6 separate regions of the Homo sapiens genome follow, and all the other regions are linked to region 4. The links are contacts of gene promoters, found by promoter capture Hi-C in blood cells and fetal thymus (Javierre and others, 2016). All regions are on one chromosome and are shown on one strand. Each heading gives the region's core, a stretch centred on a gene start or on the middle of the fragment in contact. The rest is flanking DNA. Distances are from core to core; before and after follow the strand shown.

The links. The method cuts DNA at HindIII sites, captures the fragments that hold promoters and counts their contacts. A CHiCAGO score of 5 or more calls a contact.
Region 1: the fragment with the promoter of PSPN here is called in contact with the fragment with the promoter of ACSBG2 in region 4 in 10 of 17 cell types (M0 macrophages, megakaryocytes, M2 macrophages and 7 more); the score reaches 9.4 in M0 macrophages.
Region 2: a contact is called between a fragment that was not itself captured here and the fragment with the promoter of ACSBG2 in region 4, in 1 of 17 cell types (neutrophils). The highest score is 5.2, in neutrophils.
Region 3: a fragment that was not itself captured here is called in contact with the fragment with the promoter of ACSBG2 in region 4 in 2 of 17 cell types (M1 macrophages and M2 macrophages); the score reaches 7.3 in M1 macrophages.
Region 5: a fragment that was not itself captured here is called in contact with the fragment with the promoter of ACSBG2 in region 4 in 2 of 17 cell types (M2 macrophages and M1 macrophages); the score reaches 6.2 in M2 macrophages.
Region 6: a fragment that was not itself captured here is called in contact with the fragment with the promoter of ACSBG2 in region 4 in 3 of 17 cell types (M2 macrophages, M1 macrophages and M0 macrophages); the score reaches 9.1 in M2 macrophages.

Annotation. Positions count from the first base shown.
Region 1 is chr19:6,373,985-6,377,281 of GRCh38, reverse strand. It overlaps PSPN (persephin), which reads left to right and starts at 1,349. Exons shown (of 2, transcript NM_004158.5): 1 at 1,349-1,580; 2 at 1,666-2,134. The coding sequence starts at 1,433. The coding sequence ends at 1,988. It overlaps ALKBH7 (alkB homolog 7), which reads right to left. Exons shown (of 4, transcript NM_032306.4): 2 at 2,906-3,079; 3 at 2,693-2,817; 4 at 2,032-2,471. The coding sequence ends at 2,309. The HindIII fragment of the contact is 10,611 bases long and covers 1-3,297 here.
Region 2 is chr19:6,002,657-6,005,731 of GRCh38, reverse strand. It overlaps RFX2 (regulatory factor X2), which reads left to right. Exons shown (of 18, transcript NM_000635.4): 13 at 1,434-1,531; 14 at 2,862-3,011. All of the region lies in intron 1 of RANBP3-DT (RANBP3 divergent transcript), which reads right to left. Among named protein-coding and RNA genes, the nearest start is that of RANBP3-DT, 26 kb to the right of the region's middle. The HindIII fragment of the contact is 5,939 bases long and covers 1-3,075 here.
Region 3 is chr19:6,337,302-6,340,294 of GRCh38, reverse strand. It overlaps a transcript of ACER1 not described here. Among named protein-coding and RNA genes, the nearest start is that of ACER1, 5.2 kb to the right of the region's middle. The HindIII fragment of the contact is 2,998 bases long and covers 1-2,903 here.
Region 4 is chr19:6,134,103-6,136,958 of GRCh38, reverse strand. It overlaps ACSBG2 (acyl-CoA synthetase bubblegum family member 2), which reads right to left and starts at 1,292. Exons shown (of 15, transcript NM_030924.5): 1 at 1,050-1,292. The region is part of intron 3 of LOC105372255 (a long non-coding RNA gene); the gene reads left to right. RefSeq lists enhancers at 522-1,424, 1,425-2,328. The HindIII fragment of the contact is 9,635 bases long and covers 788-2,856 here.
Region 5 is chr19:6,267,874-6,270,786 of GRCh38, reverse strand. MLLT1 (MLLT1 super elongation complex subunit) reads left to right here. Exons shown (of 12, transcript NM_005934.4): 2 at 28-208. Among named protein-coding and RNA genes, the nearest start is that of MLLT1, 11 kb to the left of the region's middle. The HindIII fragment of the contact is 3,500 bases long and covers 1-2,913 here.
Region 6 is chr19:6,287,478-6,290,450 of GRCh38, reverse strand. No RefSeq gene overlaps it. Among named protein-coding and RNA genes, the nearest start is that of MLLT1, 9.0 kb to the right of the region's middle. The HindIII fragment of the contact is 240 bases long and covers 1,328-1,567 here.

The DNA of each region.
Region 1 (3,297 bases), core at 100-2,599, 240 kb before region 4:
TACAGGCGCCCACCACCATGCCCAGCTAATTTTTGTATTTTTAATAGAGATGGATTTCACCATGTTGGTCAAGCTGGTCTCAAACTCCTGACCTCAGGTAATCCACCCGCCTCAGCCTCCCGAGGCATGAGCCACCACGCCAAGCCCAGGCTTTTCTTTCCATCGGAAAATTATCATCTCAATAAGCACTTCAGTAAGAAAAACCACAACATAATCATCGAAGCAATCCCTCACGGATGGAGTTGAGGCCACTTCCAGACTTTCCTAATATGAAGAAGGCATCAGATGTCCCTGTGCTGGCTGTTTCACTTGCCTGTGTGGGAGGAACCCCGCAAACAGGGCTCCTGGGGCAGAGGGTGTAATTTACAATTCCCCAGTAGCAGCTGCTCATCCAAAGAGCTGCTAGCAATTTACACCCCCACCAACAGCACAGGGTGCACCTGGGTCACACGGGTTGTGTGTGAGGGTTTTCTGATTTTCCCCAATCTTGTGGGTGCTTAGAGTCAAGCACCCCTTCGGACAATCACAAGCTGTTTGCTTGTTTTTGCATTCGAAGCTACGGGCACTGCCTTACACTCTAAGTGCCCATCTCTTTCCTCACCAAGCCGAGTAGGAGGGGTTCTGAGGAGCTCCCCTGTACCGGTGAGGGGACTGGGCTCACACGGGGCTGGGTATGGAAGCCTCGAGAGCCCTTATCTGTCTGCATCGTGCTAGACGTTACCATGACCTGGACAGCCTCCATCGCCCCGGGGGCTCTGACATGCTCAGATCCCAGGATGGGGCTGCAGTTATAGGGGTCTCAGGTTGGCCTTCCCGAGACAGGCGTCCCTGTCCCCTTGTGTCCCCACCCTTGGCTGTCCCCAGGCCTCTCCCTTTTCCTGTTTTGATGCTGGCTCAGCCAGGCCCGGAGACAGGGGCATGATGTCCTAATCCTCCAGGCGGGAGCCACCATGGAGGGTTCCCGTGGACTCAGTCCCCTGCCAAGCCACCTTTCCCAGCACTCACATATGCTCCACCTGGCACATGATACACGTGGGGGCTCCTGAGCCCCAGCACCCTGACTTAGTGGGGAGGGACCCCACCGGGGTCCCATGAAGCCCCCTGACTTCCACTCCAGGCAGCAGGTCGGGGGAACACCAGTTGCCTGCCCTGGCCGCCAGCACAGCACTCGTAAATCAGGGGGTGTCTGGGGCGTCGGAAATGGCTGTGTGGAATGTCGGGGTGGGGTAGGCTGGGGGTGAGCCCTTAACTCTTAGAAGGGTGGGGTGTGGGGCAGAAGGAGCAGATGCCTGGATTCGAGGGTGCAGGAGATGGGCTGGTGCAGACGTGGGGCCTCCTGGCTGCAGGGGCCGGCAGTGAAGAGGTTAGCTCCCAGCCCAGGCAGGGCATAAATTTGGGGCACAGCTCCCACTCTCAGGACCTGCCCGTCACAATGGCCGTAGGGAAGTTCCTGCTGGGCTCCCTGCTGCTCCTGTCCCTGCAGCTGGGACAGGGCTGGGGCCCCGATGCCCGTGGGGTTCCCGTGGCCGATGGAGAGTTCTCGTCTGAACAGGTGGCAAAGGCTGGAGGGACCTGGCTGGGTAAGGACTTCCAGGGACCCTCTGTGACTTCCCAACTTTCCCCAGCCCTGACCCTGCTCACTGTCAGCGCCCTTCCCTCCCACAGGCACCCACCGCCCCCTTGCCCGCCTGCGCCGAGCCCTGTCTGGTCCATGCCAGCTGTGGAGCCTGACCCTGTCCGTGGCAGAGCTAGGCCTGGGCTACGCCTCAGAGGAGAAGGTCATCTTCCGCTACTGCGCCGGCAGCTGCCCCCGTGGTGCCCGCACCCAGCATGGCCTGGCGCTGGCCCGGCTGCAGGGCCAGGGCCGAGCCCACGGCGGGCCCTGCTGCCGGCCCACTCGCTACACCGACGTGGCCTTCCTCGATGACCGCCACCGCTGGCAGCGGCTGCCCCAGCTCTCGGCGGCTGCCTGCGGCTGTGGTGGCTGAGGGTGCCCGGCCTGGCACCCAGAAGCTGCAGTGCTGGGGGAGCTCGGCTGACTTATTTATTGGAGACCTGGATGCAGAGACAACGAGGAGGGGAGTGGGCTGGGGCGACCAGCAGTGAGTGCAATAAAGGACACCACTCTCCCGGCCTTGTGACTTTGACCATGTGTCCAGCCAGCCACACCTGGAGCTCCCTATGGGCCAGTGCCATCCTGGGTTCCCCTGCAAATCCCGGCCCCAGCAAGCAGCCACTGCAATGTCCCAGTTAGGCTGTCCATTCCCCAACTTTATTCACAAATCTGGTGTCTGTAGAAAGCTGGGGGTCAGCAGGCTGGGGGCGGCTGTCCAGACTCCCCTGGCCCCATGCCCTCAGGGAGGGAGCGGCAGATCACGGAGATGCGCCGGCCCCGGGGAATCCGGCGTTCCCCAAAGAAGGACTCTTCATCCCGAAGGATCTCATGGGAGAAGTCATAACGGGCTGAGCCCCTGCAGGAAGAAACAGGCTGTGACTGGGTGCAAGGAGGGCAGCCCCTGCTCCAGGCAGACCTGGATTCCAGCCTCCTGGATTCCAGCCCCCTGCTGCCTCCCACACAGACCCTGGGGTAAAGGCGTCTTCGGGGAGGGCTGGATTGAGGGAAAGTACCCAGGGCACAGGGTGGGCGGATGGCACATTCTTGGAGGGGTGGGTGCTGCCTGGATGGAGGTACCTAAGGATGTAGAGGGAGCCCGGCTCCAGCAAGAGTTCCAGCCACTCCCCCGGCTCCTGGGTGTGCACCAGCCGCATAACGCTGGGAGACAGGAGAGACAGGCCGGCGATGGTGGCCCCGCAGAACTGCAAAAGAGGCGTGGGGATGGGTCAGGATCTAACCGGGCCTGCCTACCCCCTGGCTGGGAGTGCCAAGGCACCGTCCTCTGCCCACCTTGATGCTGTCCACGTGGGGCTTGATGTAGCCGCGGGCTTCCAGGTCCAGCACGTGCACGGAGGAGAGCAGGGTCTGGCCGGGGCCAAAGGCGGCCGCCTGCACGCGCTGCAGGATGGCCCGGCTGGCTTCTGACCAGCGCGACTTCTCTGTCTCTCGGAAGCCGTGGATGGCCTGCACAGAGAGCTCGGTTAAGCCTGGGAGCTCCCAGAGGGAACAAGGAAACTGAGGCAAGGAGGGGCAGAAAACGGCAAGGGGCTGGTTTCCCTATGTGACTCTTGACCCTGCCCTCAACTCAAACTCCCCTAGCCCCTCAACTATGGCCCTACCTAGGTGTGACCTCAGTCCTTAGTACTCACCCTGAGGCTACAATTCCAGGTCCCCAATGCTGG
Region 2 (3,075 bases), core at 328-2,827, 130 kb after region 4:
TTTAACCCCCAGCCAGACCCCACTTCCCAGCACCGTGGGATTCCAGGAGACATTTACACCCCAGCGCCCCACCCTGTGATTTCCCACAGGACTTGGTGGGGTGGGGAGAGAGTGACAGGCACAGTGAGGAAGGAAGCTAGGCCCACGGCAGAGATCACTCGTGCCCTTGGAGACCTCCCAGGGCCTCCAGCTCCTGAGGCAATGACAGCACCCACCACGAGGGAGCCCTCGGGCCAGGCCCGTGCCAAGCTCCCCAAAACCCTGGGGGTCGTCAAGGAAGCTGGGCACAGAGGCCTCTCTTCATAAATCACAGCATCAGGACCACAGGCCATGCCCCGCAGTCCATCCACAAACATCCGGGCCCATGGACCGTGCCCCTCAGGCCATCCACAAATATGCATGCCCGTTAGTACCAGGCAGCTCTCCGTCCTGTTGAGTAAACTCTATGCTCCCTTTGCTGGAAGATGGGAAACAGCAAAAGTATTGCATTTCTCATTTGGCCTGGCCTTGCCTGTCTGCCTGAAAACTGTTCAGGGCAATGCCTCGTCTGAGTTTCTATGTTATGGTGGGAGTTTGGGGTATCTTTCCTTTTGCATTTTAAAATATTTTTCTGGTTTTTTTTAAGACAGAGTTTTGCTCTTGTCACTCAGGCTGGATTGCAGGAGGCTCACTGCAGTCTTTGCCTCCTGGGTTCAAGTGATTCTCCTGCCTCAGCCTCCCAAATAGCTGGGACTACAGGCACCCACCGCCACGTCCAGATCATTTTTGTATTTTTAGTAGAGATAGGGTTTCACCATGTTGGCCAGGCTGGTCTCGAACTCCGGACCTCAGGTGATCCGCCCACCTCGGCCTCCCAAAGTGCTGGGACTACAGGCGTCAGCCACCACACCTGGCCTTTTTCTGTTTTTGTTTTTTGGTTTTTTTTTTTTTTAACAGTCTGATCATTTGCTTCTTATTCTAACCCACTTTAAAATAAATTAGGAAGTTGGTAGAATGTATTTACGTGTGTGTGTGTGTTTGTGTCAAGGCCTCTTTCCCTTGGCACTGTTGATATCTGGGGCTGGATCGTTGTCTGGGGTGGGGCCCTCCTGGGCACTGTGGGGTGCTGAGGAGCATCCCTAGCCTCCACCCACTCCATGCCTGAGGCACCCTGCAGTCATGACCACCATTAACGTCCCCAGACATTGCCCAGTGTCCCCTGGGGCAGAATCGCCCCTGTGAGACCCGCATAGGCAGTGGGTGGTGACCAGCAGCGCTGGGCCATGCCTGGTTCTTCCCGTTTCTAAGTGTCCTCGGTTCCCCGTCGCCTGTGTGGCTCGTTCTTCATGGTGGTCATTTTCATCGCACTTGGGCCAGCTCTTACACTGAATGCTGATTTCCAGGGTCCAGTCACTGCCTTTCTCCCTGGTAATATCATGGTCTGTATCCCCCAGGTACCTTGACACAGGCCATCCGTAACTTTGCCAAGAGCTTGGAAGGCTGGTTGACAAATGCCATGAGTGACTTCCCACAACAGGTCATCCAGACCAAGGTGCGTCCGGGGTGGGGCCTGGGCTCCCCAACGATGGCTGGGAGGGGCTCCAGTCCAGGACAGCATGAGGACCACTGTGTCCCAGAGAGCGCTGGCTTCTTCCCTGCGTCATGAGAGTAACCGATCCCTTCAGGAAGCCCTGAGCACACTGCCGGTGACGCGTCAGTGCTGGCAGGAAGGGGAACAACAGAAGATGTCATTTGATGTCACATCTTTGGGTCAATTCAGAACAGATTGCGTGTTTCTGTGCTCATCTTATTCGGGAAATTTAATCTCCTTGCTGTGACCCTTATTGCTGCAATCTTGGCCACAAATCAGTCGAATTTGAAATGTAGAACCTTGGCCGACTTGTGGAAAAGAGAGTGATTACCCACCGTTCTCACAAGCATTTCTTTTTTTTTTTTTTTTTTTTTTTTTTTTTTGAGACAGAGTCTCACTCTGTCGCCCAGGCTGGAGTGCAATGGTGTTATCTCAGCTCACTGCAACGTCTGCCTCCCGGGTTCAAGCGATTCTCCTGCCTCAGCCTCCCGAATAGCTGGGATTACAGGTGCCCGCCACCACACCTGGCTAATTTTTTTGTATTTTTAGTAGAGACAGGGTTTCGCCATGTTGGCCAGGCTGGTCTCGAACTCCTGACCTCAGGCGATCCACCTGCCTTGGCCTCCCAAAGTACCGGGATTACAGGTGTGAGCCACCTCACCCAGCCATCATGAGCATTTCCTGAAGGGCTCTTGGGTGAGAGGAGGCAGCTGCAGGGCACCCGCCTGCTCTTCGGAATTGATCTGTTAGGCAGTGATGCAAGCATTGATCAGGTCATTGTTAAAAAGTCACATTCAGGGCCGGTGCAGTGGCTCACACCTGTAATCCCAGCACTTTGGGAGACAGAGACTGGAGGATCATTTGATGCCACGAGTTTGAGACCAGCCTGGGCAACAACAAGCAAGACCCCATCTCTTAAAAAAAATAAGATTCCCAGGCCACACCCACTAAAAGTCTGATCCTGTAGCACTCAGGAGTCTGTGGTCTCAACAGCCCCTCCAGAGAACCACAGGGACTCTAGAAGTGGGCATGGCGACAGTTGTGAATTCTAACTCAGCAGCACGCAGGCCTCAGTTAGCGACGTGTGTGATGTGCCGGCGAGGTCTCCTCTTCACTGATTCTCACACACTGGGTCCTTAAGAATAGCAGGAGGTTCCCTCTTCCCTGCCCAGGTTGCTGTTTCCTGCTCCCTCCTCCCTGTGTTGTCCCTGAGCCCACACACCCCTGCAAGGAGCGCAGCGGAACAGGCTCTCCCTGCGAACCCCTGCTCACCACGAGCCCTGGCTTACAGGTGGGCGTCGTCAGTGCCTTCGCCCAGACGCTGCGGCGCTACACGTCCCTCAACCACCTGGCGCAGGCGGCCCGGGCGGTGCTGCAGAACACGTCCCAGATCAACCAGATGCTCAGCGACCTCAACCGCGTGGACTTTGCCAACGTGCAGGTGACTTCCTCCACACCGTCCCCAGGGCCCGGGCTTCCCGCCCTCCAGCAAAACCAGCAAACCC
Region 3 (2,993 bases), core at 155-2,654, 200 kb before region 4:
TTCTTTCTTTTTTTGGAGACAGAGTCTTGCTCTATGCCCAGGCTGGAGTGTAGTGGCGCGATCTTGGCTGACTACAACCTCCACCTCCCAGGCTCAAGTGATTCTCGTACCTCAGCCTCCCGAGTAGCTGGGATTACAGGCACGCACCACCACGCCTGGCTAATTTTATTTTTTTTATTTTTAGTAGAGACGGTGTCTCACCATGTTGGCCAGGCTGGTCTTGAACCCTGACCTCAAGTGATCCACCTGCCTCAGTCTCCCAAAATGCTGGGATTACATGTGTGAGCCACCACGCCCAGCCCCAAACCCCTCTTTTAAAAACCTAAATCAGGCCAGGCGTGGTGGCTCACGCCTGTAATCCCAGCACTTTAGGAGGCTGAGGCGGGCGGATCATGAGGTCAGGAGATCAAGACCATCCTGGCTAACACGGTGAAACCCCGTCTCTACTAAAAATACAAAAAAAACTTAGCCGGGTGTGGTGGCGGGCGCCTGTAGTCCCATCGGGAGGCTGAGGCAGGAGAATGGCGTGAACCCGGGAGGCGGAGCTTGCAGTGAGCCGAGATCGCACCACTGCACTCCAGCCTGGGCAACAGAGAGAGACTCCATCTCAAAAAACAAAAAACAAAAACAAAAACCCTAAATCATTACTTTGTAAAATTGTGGTAAAAGATACATAACACGAAACTGATCATTTTAATCATCAAATGCATAGTTCAGCGGCATTAAGCACATTCGCATGTCTATGCAGCCATCACCACCATCCCCTCCAGAACTTTCTCATCTTTCCAAACTGAAACTCTGTCCCCAAGAAACACTCACTCCCTATCCCCCTCCCCAGCCCCTCATACCCCCCGTTCTACTTCCTGTCTCTGTGACTCTGAGGACTTTGGGGACCTCCTAGGAGTGGGATCACACAGGATTTGTCCTTTTATGTCTGGCTTATTTCACCCAGCTTGATGTCCTCAAAGTCCATCCACGTTGTTGCCTGTATCAGAATTTCCTTCCTTTTTCAGGGCTGAATAATATTCCACGGTATGGATGAACCACACACATTGTGTTTATCCATTCATGTATTAATTAAAAATCTAAATCAATCCCTTTATAAAAAGAGATTTTTAGGCTGGGTGCGGTGGCTCATGCCTGTAATCTCAGCACTTTGGGAGGCTGAGGCAGGCGGATCACCTGAGGTCAGGAGTTCCAAACCAGCCTGGCTAACATGCTGAAACCCCATCTCTACTAAAAATGTAAAAATTAGCCCGACGTGGTGGTGGGCGCCTGTAATCCCAGCTATCGGGAGGCTGAAGCAGGAGAATCATTTGAACCCAGGAGGCGGAGGTTGCAGTGAGCCGAGATTGCACCATTGCACTCTAGCCTGGATGACAGGAAGAGACTCGGTCTTAAAAAAAAAAAAAGATTTTAAGGCCAGGTGCGGTGGCTCACACATGTAATTCTAGCACTTTGGGAGGCTGAGGTGGAAGGATCGCTTGAGCTCGGGAATTAGAGAGCAGTCTGGGAGACATAGTGAGAACCTGTCTCTACAAAAAATAGAAAAAATTTGCCTGGCCTGTAGTCCCAGCTACTTGGGAGGCTAAGGTGTGAGGATCACTTGAGCCCAGGAGGTTGAGGCTGCAGTGGCCTGTGATTGCACCACTGCACTCAAGCCTGGCAGCAGAGTGAGACCCTCTATCAAACACATTAAAAAAAATGGAATAATTATAAACTTGCAGGAACCTGCAATAATAATATAGAAGAATCCCAGGTAATCTTCATCCAGTTTCTCCCAGTGGTACCTCTTTTATAACTATACATTTTCACAACCAGAAAGGTGATATAAATATGACCTATAGACCATATTCAGATTTCAACAGCTTTTCCCATGCATTCATGTGTTAGACAATTTTCTTTTCATTTTCTCAGAAAAATGGGAGCAAATCTATGCAATAATATCACATGTATAGATCTGTGCAAACACAACCACAATTGTAACACTTACATTTATTTTGGCCAGGGCACAGTAGCTCATACCTGTACTCCCAGCAACTTGGGAGGCGAAGGTGAGAAGATTGCTTGAGCCCAGGAAATTGACATTGCTGTGAGCTAGGATTTTACCACTGCCCTCCAGCCTAGGAAACGGAGCAAGACTCCATCTCTTAAAAAATACATATTTATTTTATTATTTTATTTTTATTTTATTTAATTAACTATTTTTTTTTGAGACAGGGTTTCCCTCTTTTTGCCCAGGTTAGAGTGCAGCGGTGGAATTAGAGGTGTAAGCCACTGCACTGGGCCAAAATATTATTTTAAAAAGAAAATTCTGGGGCTGGGCGCGGTGGCTCACGCCTGTAGTCCCAGCACTTTGGGAGGCCGAGGTGGGTGGATCACGAGGTCGGGAGATCGAGACCATCCTGGCTAACATGGTGAAACCCTGTCCCTACTAAAAATACAAAAAAATTAGCCAGGCGTTGGTGGTGGGTGCCTGCAGTCCCAGCTACTCGGGAGGCTGAGGCAGGAGAATGGCATGAACCCAGGAGGCGGAGCTTGCAGTGAGCCAAGATCGAGCCACTGCACTCCAGCCTGGGCGACAGAGCAAGACTCCATCTCAAAAAAAAAAAAAAAAAAAAAAAAAAAAAAAAGAAAGAAAGAAAGAAAAGAAAAGAAAAAGAAAAAGAAAACTTTGGCCAGGCAGGGTGGTCCACGCCTGTAATCCCAGCTACTCAGAAGGCTCAGGCAAGAGAATCGTTTGAACCTGGGAGGTGGAGGTTGCAGTGAGCCGAGATCATGCCATTGCACTCCAGCCTGGGGGACAGAGCAAACGCCATCTCAAAAAAAAAAAGAAAAAAAAAGGAAACTTTGTAACCCTACCGTGAATGGAAAGTAGATTTGGCTTACCATGAATACAAGCTTATCAAAAAATAAATACAATGTAAACAAATCATGTTACTAAATTCTAACAGAATATTGTTGCCTAATGAAGGGCTTTTCTTTTCTTTTTT
Region 4 (2,856 bases), core at 43-2,542:
ATCCTGGACAAGATGCTCAGTAGCTTTGGTCATCAGGGAACTGCACGTTAAAAATCACACGATCGGCCGGGTGCGGAGGCTCACACCTGTGATCCCAGCACTTTGGGAGGCCGTGGCAGGTGGATCACTTGAGCTCAGGAGTTCTCTACAGAGGACTTGTAAGTTACTAGTAATATTCGATTTCACGAAGTGAAAAGGGCACACAGATATTTATCGTTATTCATTAAATCGTACAGATATGCTTTGTGTTATTTTATATGCATTATATGTTTCACAATTTTAAAAGGCCATGTAGGGTTCAGATGTGGTGACTCACACCTGTAATCCCAGCACTTTGGGAGGCTGAGTCGGGTGGATCGCTTGAGGCCAGGAGTTCGAGACCAGCCTGGCTGGCATGGTGAAACCCCATCTCTACTAAAAATACAAAAATTAGCTGGGCATGGTGGCGCGTGCCTATAATCCCAGCACTTTGAGAGGTCGAGGCGGGTGGATCACCTGAGGTCAGAAGTTCAAGACCAGCCTGGCTGGTATGGCGAAACCCCATCTCTACTAAAAATATAAAAATTAGGCCGAGTATGGCGGCTCACGCCTGTAATCCCAGCACTTTGGGAGGCCAAGGCGGGTGGATCACGAGGTCAGGAGATTGAGACTATCCTGGCTAATGTGGTGAAACCCCATCTCTACTAAAAAATACAAAAAATTAGCCGGGCATGGTGGCAGGCACCTGTAGTCCCAGCTACTCAGGAGGCTGAGGCAGGAGAATGGTGTGAACCTGGGAGGCGAAGCTTGCAGTGAGCCGAGATTGCGCCTGGGCAACAGAGCAAGACTCTGTCTCAAAAAAAAAAAAAAAATTAGCTGGACATGGTGGCAGGCGCCTGTAATCTCAGCTACTTGGGAGGTTGAGGTGGGAGTATCACTTGAGCCTGGGAGGCAGAGGTTGCAGTGAGCTGAGATCGTGCCACTGCACTATAGCCTGGGCAAAAGAGTGAGACCCTGTCTCAAAAAAAAAAGAAAAGAAAACGCATGCCCTTCTCCCATACCACTGGCACCTGTCACTCTTCAAGAGGTGTGGTTCTGGCCATCTGGCAAGGCACCTGGAGCTGGGACATCTGGTCACTCAGGTGTTTTCTTCTTCCTGCAAAGACAGTCAACAGGTAGCCCCTCCTGGAAACCTGAACATGAGCTGCCCCTTCCCAGCCCCCGTCACCCTCTCCGTCCAGCCAGGATGATGGTGGTGGTGGGAGGCAGGAGGATGGGTGGTTTCCCTCCACAACAGGCCTTCTACCCCATTCAACCTTCCAGAACGTTCCATCCCAGCCACCTCTTGTGACATCACTGGCTGCCCCTGCCTCCGCACCCCACCCCCACCCCTAGGGGAAGCTGCTTCCAGGACAGGGAGATTGCTCTTTTCATGCATCATTCATTTATTCATGCATGCATGCACTTCTGCGTTGCATTCGTGACGTTTTTATGAAGCCATGACCCTAATGGCAGGGATTGTGCTGGATGCTGGAGACATAAAGATGAACAAAGCCAGATGAGGCCTGTTCAAGAAAATAAGAGGAGGCCTAGAATCACACAAACAAATGCAAACTTACCATTGTGAAGAGAGCCCCAAGGCATGTTGAGGGCTTGATCAAAGGATCCCGCCCAGGCAGGGAGTCTGGGAGTGGTTTCTTTCTTTTCTTTCGTTTTTTGAGACGGGAGTCTTGCTCTGTCACCCAGGCTGGAGTGCAATGGTGCGATCTCAGTTCACTGCAACGTCTGCCTCCCAGGTTCAAGCGATTCTCCTGCCTCAGCCTCCCGAGTAGCTGGGATTACAGGCGCCCGCCACCACGCCCGGCTAATCTTTTGTATTTTTAGTACAGACGGGGTTTCGCCATGTTGGCCAGGCTGGTCTCAAACTCCTGACCTTGTGATCCGCCCGCCTTGGCCTCCCAAAGTGCTGAGATGACAGGCGTGAGCCACCGCGCCTGGCCTGGGAGTGGTTTCTTGAGCTGGGATCTGAAGTATGCCTGGATGTTATTCCTGCCCTCGTGACTTTCTCTTACGCTGCCTGTCTTCATGTGTTTACAGCGGCCTCCCCCTTCTCGTTCTCTGCTTTAGTCACTGCTAACAATGTCCACTACCAGGCACAGTGGCTTGTGCCTGGAATCCCAGCACTTTGGGAGGCCAAGTCCGTAGCATCACTTGAGGCCAGGAGTTCAAAACCAGCCTGGGCAATGTAGTAAGACCCCGTCTCTACAGAAAAATTTAAAAAATTAGCCGGGCGTGGTGGTGCGCAAGTGTAACCACAGCTAGTAGGGAGGCTGAGGTGGGGGGATTGTTTGAGCCCAGGAGTTCCAGGCTGCAGTGAGCTGTGATGGTACCATGGCACTCCAGCCAGGCCTACAGAGCAAGACCTTGTCTCAAAACAAAAAAGACAAAACAGTGCCAGGTGCAGCACATACTAGATGCTCAGTAAATAAAGATGTAGCAACAGAATCTTGTGCTGTGCCAGGAGAAAAGGACAAGGAGTGTTCCTTTGTCTCCAGGGCCTTTTGTGTGTGTGTGTGAGAGAGAGAGAGAGACGGAGTTTGGCTCTTGTTGCCCAGACTGGAGTGCAATAGCGTGATCTTGGCTCACTGCAACCTCTGCCTCCCGGGTTCAAGCGATTCTCCTGCCTCAGCCTCCCAAGTAGCTGAGGTTACAGGCATGCACCACCACTCCCGACTAATTTTCTGTATTTTTAGTAGAGATGGGTTTTCACCATGTTGGCCAGGCTGGTCTCCACCTCGTGGCCTCAGGTGATCCACCCGCCTCAACCTTCCATGGTGCTGGGATTACAGGTGTAGCCACCGCACCTGGCCACCAGGG
Region 5 (2,913 bases), core at 2-2,501, 130 kb before region 4:
TCATCTCCCCACCTCTCTCTCCTCCAGTGCACCGTCCAGGTGAGGTTAGAGCTGGGGCATCGCGCCCAACTGCGCAAGAAGCCCACCACGGAGGGGTTCACTCACGACTGGATGGTGTTTGTCCGCGGCCCCGAGCAATGTGACATCCAGCACTTCGTGGAGAAGGTGGTCTTCTGGCTGCACGACAGCTTCCCCAAGCCCAGACGCGGTGAGTGGCCTCAAGCCCTGAGTGCCCACAGCACGGACCCATCTGTCTTCACTCCTCCCAAGGCCAGGCTCCACCCCTCCCTCAGGAGCAGCAGGACCCCTCCAACCATGAGGTTCCAGCTTGCGTCCCTCGGCGTGGGGGCACTGGAGCCGTGTCACCTCCAGCTGTTGAGTTAGTCGTAGGAAGAACCGAAGGAGGTGGTGGCGGTCTGTTGTGTCGTGATTTAGACCCGGGCTCTGGGAAGCAGCCAGGGAGCACAGCCAGGTTGGCATGGGTGGGACAGGTGAAGTCAGCCGGCTGGTGAGTGATCAGGAAGTTGCCGACCGGGCCTATGTTTGTTTGTGTGCCATGTGAAGAATTCCCAATATTTGGGGCAGAAAGAATGCCGGAGCTCATGTCACCACTGTCTTTTCCGTGTCTTCCCTCTCCCTTCAAGCCTCAGGCCGTCATTGATTCAGCACGAGTGCCTCAGTCGTGTATTCTGTCAGCGTCTCCACCTGTGGCGTGGGGGCCCTGGCCTTCCTGGAGGGTGCAGTGTGACGGGGCACAGGCAGGAAGTCACCCAGTTTATGATCAGGGATGCCCTCCTGGGGAAGTGAGCCCTAGGGAAAGGCTGTGGTGGGGAATCGGAGAGTGAGGTGGTGGTCTGGTGAGCGCCATCAGGGCTGGGGCCGCGTCTACTTTTCTTACCGCTGAGTCGCCAGTGTGAAGCCCGGAGCCCGGCACATCACAGGGGTTCGATAAATGCTTCTTGGGTGATGTCTTGATAAAGGAATGAGGGACTTTCTGTAGGAAGCACTTCAGGGTGGGAAGAGCCCTGGCTGGGCTGGTGACCCCTCTACCCTGCAATACGGGGGTCCCGGGAGCTCCAGGGGCCACGGGAGGTGAGCCGTGCACAAGCGTGGGTGTGCTTAGGTTGAAGCAAGAGCTTCCCGGGACCCGGGACCCAGGACCCTGGCCCTGAGCCTGTAAGTGGTTTGCAGCCTAGTGGGGAAGTGATGGGCGTTGACAGCAGTAGAGGCTTGTCATTCTGAAGGGATGCCCACCTGCGATTCCCTCAGCCTGCGGCTTCTCTTTCCCTCTGCATTTCTCCTTTCCTGAGTCTTCACCTTTTCCCCTTTTCCTTCCTCCCTCTCTAAGCCTCTTAGAGGATGGCCGCGGAGGCTCCTGACAGCGGCAGATGTTTATAAACCGCTTCCTAATCGTGGGGACACATGCCATCTATCGAGCACTTCCTGGCCAGCGCTTCGTGCGCAGGATCGCGTTTTCTTCTCGCCACAGCCCTCTTCTGCAGACGGGGAGACGGGTCCAGGGGGCAGGCCGCTACCTGTGCTTAGAGCAGGGTGGGCAGGCTGGCCTGTGGGCTGGGTCTGGCCACTGCCAGTGCAGCCTGTTTTTATTGGTGCACGGCCATGCCCGCCCGCATAGGTGTTGCCTGTGGCTGCTTTTGTGCCACGTTGGCAGAGCAGGAGCCTGGCTGCCCCTCCTGCACCAGGCCCTCTTTCCTTTCTCTGGTGGCATCCACTCCACTTCTTCACCAACCCCCTCACCCCTCCCCTTTTCTCTGTCCCTGGAGCACAGGGATGGGCCCCGGACGCTGATTTCCATCCACTTTGAGGCTGTTGATTTCACCTTTGTTCCCCACCACGTTGACATGGCACCTTCTCCAAGTACCTGGAAGGTGGGGTAGTGAGTGGGGCTCACTCTTAAGGGTTAGTTTTTAGTTTTTTGTTTTGTTTTGTTTTTTGTTTGTCGTGTTGCCCAGGCTTGTCTTGAGCTCCTGGCAGGCATGTGCCACCATGCCAGGCTTCAGTGTCAGTTTGCAGGCGGCCTTTAAATTAGTAGCTGAGCCCTGTTTGTTGCTGTCTGTCTGTGGGGCCTGGAGGCAGATAGCGGCCCCATCAAATGTATCAGAAAGTAAATTTCCAGCTCACACTCTGTGGCATTGAATAAAACTTTAGAGAGGGAGTGAACCTCTTAGAGCACTCCAGCCTCTGGATTGATACTTGAGGTACTTAAAAAGTATCTTTTACTTCCGCCCCAGCTTACATTATCACAAATCAAATAGGGTAGAAACATGTAAGGTACAAAGTTGCTGTTCCTGGCCTCCTTAGTCCTCCCTCCCCGGGGCTGTCTTCCTAGCCCTCTCTGGACTCCTCTTAATACCAGCTCATTTGCTTCTTATTTCTTGATTTTTTAAATGTAGACAATACTTACTGATTTACCAGCTTGAAGGGTTAGAATTTATCCCAAAGTACCCCTTTTATCCACTGTCTTCTCTAAGTTTTTAATAGTCCAGTGACTCGCTTTTGCGTTGGTTGTCTTTGTGACTTTGAATGATGATGTGAGCCTGTTTACCTTTGGGATCCTTCACAGAAGAGTCCCACGTCACCCTTTTTAGGGAGTCCTCTGGCTGCCTGGGCTCAATCGCGGTTTCGTTGCCCAATACACCCACACAGCCATATGCTTCTTAGCCTTTTTGTTTTCTGCTTTGGTTTTCTCCTTAGCACCATCTTAACATCTCGTACATATGACTTCTTCATCTTGTCCATCCCTCTCCCCACCCCAAGTCAGAGGTTTCTGTCAGTTTTGTTTGCTGCTACATGTTCGGTGCCTGCAGGGATACAGTAGGTGCTTACTAAGTGTTTGATGACTGGATGGACCCTTGCACCTGGTCAGCTTTTGTTAGTGTTTTCTGACTCTCC
Region 6 (2,973 bases), core at 198-2,697, 150 kb before region 4:
TTTTTTTTGAGATGGTGTCTTGCTCTGTCGCCGAGGCTGGAGTGCAGTGGCATGATCTCGGCTCACTGCAACCTCCACCTCCCAAGTTCAAGTTATTCTCCTGCCTCAGCCTCCTGAGTAGCTGGGATTACAGGCATGTGCCACCACATCTGGCTAATTCATTTTTGTATTTTTAGTAGAGATGGGGTTTCACCATGTTGGTCAGGCTGGTCTAGAACTCCCGACCTCGTGATCTGCCCACCTCGGCCTTCCAAAGTGCTGGGATTACAGGTGTGAGCCACCGTGCCTGGCCTCCTTTTCCATTTTCTTTTTTTTTTTTTTTTTTGAGACAGAGTCTTGCTCTGTCATCAGGCTGGAGTGCAGTGGCATGATCTCAGCTCACTGCAATCTCTGCCTCCCAGGCTCAAGTGATTCCCTGCCTCAGCCTCCCAAGTAGCTGGGACTACAGGTGTGCACCACCATGCCTGGCTATTTTTTTTGTATTTTAGTAGAGATGGGGTTTCACCATGTTGGGCAAGATGGTCTTGATCTCCTGACTTCATGATCCGCCCATCTCAGCCTCCCAAAGTTCTGGGATTACAGGTGTGAGCCACCACGCCTGGCCCCATTCTTTTGTCTCATCATTGAGGTCCCATTTAGGGTTCTTCAGTGGTACTGCTATTCTTCCAATCAGATAAGTCTCATCCCCTTCCCTGGCCCTATATAAGATATAAAGCTCATCCCCAAAATTCTGTGCCACTTTCAGGGTGGCCTGCTTTTCAGTGGTGGTCAGGGTTTGATTCAAAAGTAACATGAAGCCGGGTGCAGCTCATGGCTGTAATTCCAGCACTTTGGGATACCAAGGTGGGCAGATCACTTGAGGTCAAGAGTTTGAGACCAGCCTGGCCAATATGGTAAAACCCCATGTCTACTAAAAATATAAAAATTAGCCAGTGTGGTGGTGCATGCCTGTAGTCCCAGCTACTTGGGAGGCTGCGGCAGGAGAATCACTTGAACCTGGGAGGTGGAGGTTGCAGTGAGCCAAGAGAGTGCCACTGCACTCCAGCCTGGATGACAGAGTGAGACCCCATCTCAAACAAAAACAAAAACAAGAGTAACATGACATCTTTCCAGGAGAGCTCAAATACTTGGGTTAAGTTCTGGAAACTCTCTATATACCTGTGAGGGCCATCTGAAAACTTGCCAAGATCTCCCCTTAAATTTGCCTTAAGTTCTATAGAGAAAAGGAAAACTGAACTTCAATGGGACCATATTCACCAGGCATCTGTTTTTGGGCAGTTGAGACTGGGACCTGCCTTAAACAAGGATTACTATGCCGGGGCAAGCTTGAGAGAGAACCTGGATAGGGAGGAGTTGAGGGGATTGATTCCCCTGCTGGAGGTACCTCTGGGGTATGCTTCCCTATTTCTCTGGGATTACCCCTTGCAGCTTCTCCTGAGAAGGCCATTAGGACAGCTGAATCAATCCTACAATGTTGGCAAAGGTCCAGATTACCCTGCAAGGCAAAGAAGGCCTGCATGTATGGGACCTTGGACCATTTATTTGCCCTTGTGTTTACAGAAAAGCTTCCTTCCTGAGGCCATGCTTCTGTTCTGTGCCTCAAGGTGCCTTGCACCAAGATGGCAACCAAGGAAATGACAATAACATTTTTCCCACAAAATTATGTACAGATACCAAGGCACACTTTGCTCATCTGTGCTACTCTTAACCTTCCATTTTATACTTTTGATGACTAAGCCAAATGCTCATTCTATCCAGTAATTTCTCTGTTTTGCAGCAACATTCTTAACATTTAACATTGTAGGCTGGATGCGGTGGCTCATACCTGTAATCCCAGCCCTTTGGGAGGGCGAGGCAGGTGGATGACCTGAGGTCAGGTGTTCAAGACAAGCCTGCCCAACATGGTGAAACCCCATCTCTATTAAAATACAAAAATTAGCCAGGCATGGTGGTGCATGCCTGAAATCCCAACTACTTTGGAGGCAGATGTTGCAGTGAGATAAGATCACACCACTGCACTCCAGCCTGGGCGACAGAGCAAGGCTCTGTCTCAAACACACACACACACACACACACACACACACGCGTGCGCACAGAAATTTAATGTTGTATATAAAGAAGAGATAGGAGCTGGGTGCAGTGGCTCATGCCTGTAATCTCAACACTTTGGGAGGTCAAGGTGGGTGGATCACCTAAGGTCAGGAGTCAAGATCATGCCATGCCACTGCACTCCAGCCTGGGCGACAGAGCAAGACTCCATCTCAAAAAAAAAAAAAAAAAAGAAGAGATAAGAACCTTGACAACCATGAAAGAAAGAAAGATAGGAGACTGGAGGTCCTAGTGCCAACAACACCCTAATGGGCGCTTAGGGACTTGAGTTTCAGGAGTTAGTCCAGGGGCCTTTGGATAACACTGAGGCATAGCCTCAGCCAGATACCCTCAGTTGCCCCAGGACCTCCTTCTGGTCCCATGTAACAGGTAGACCTCATGGAAGGAAACGGGATTGAAACAAACCCAACATTCTCAACACTTGAGGATGATGAGGGATTGACAGTGTCCTCCCCAGCAAGGCTATCATCCATGTTTTAAGTCCAGCATCTCTGCTAGTTAATTTTAACTGGCTAATAGAGGCCTGGTGTTTTTCTTTCATTTTAGCTATTGTTGAGTTTAGGGACTCCTAAAAAGGGACAGAAAGAGCAGATCTGCTTTTACTCACCCTTTCACTCACCCTTCTGCAGATCCTGGACGAGCCCTCAAAAATGTTGCAGGATCCTTGGGGTGTTGATTTCTGGTTGGAAACCTCTGTGGCTGGTGGCACCTTTGCCTGAGTTTTGCTCGGGCCCACTGGGCTCATTCCACCCACACGGCCTGGCAGGCTGTGCTCAGCTCACACTACTAGCCTGGATCTCACACTTGCCAAGGGCAAGCCAGGCATGGAGGGGCGAGGGGTGTGTGAGCAAGCAAGCAAGCATG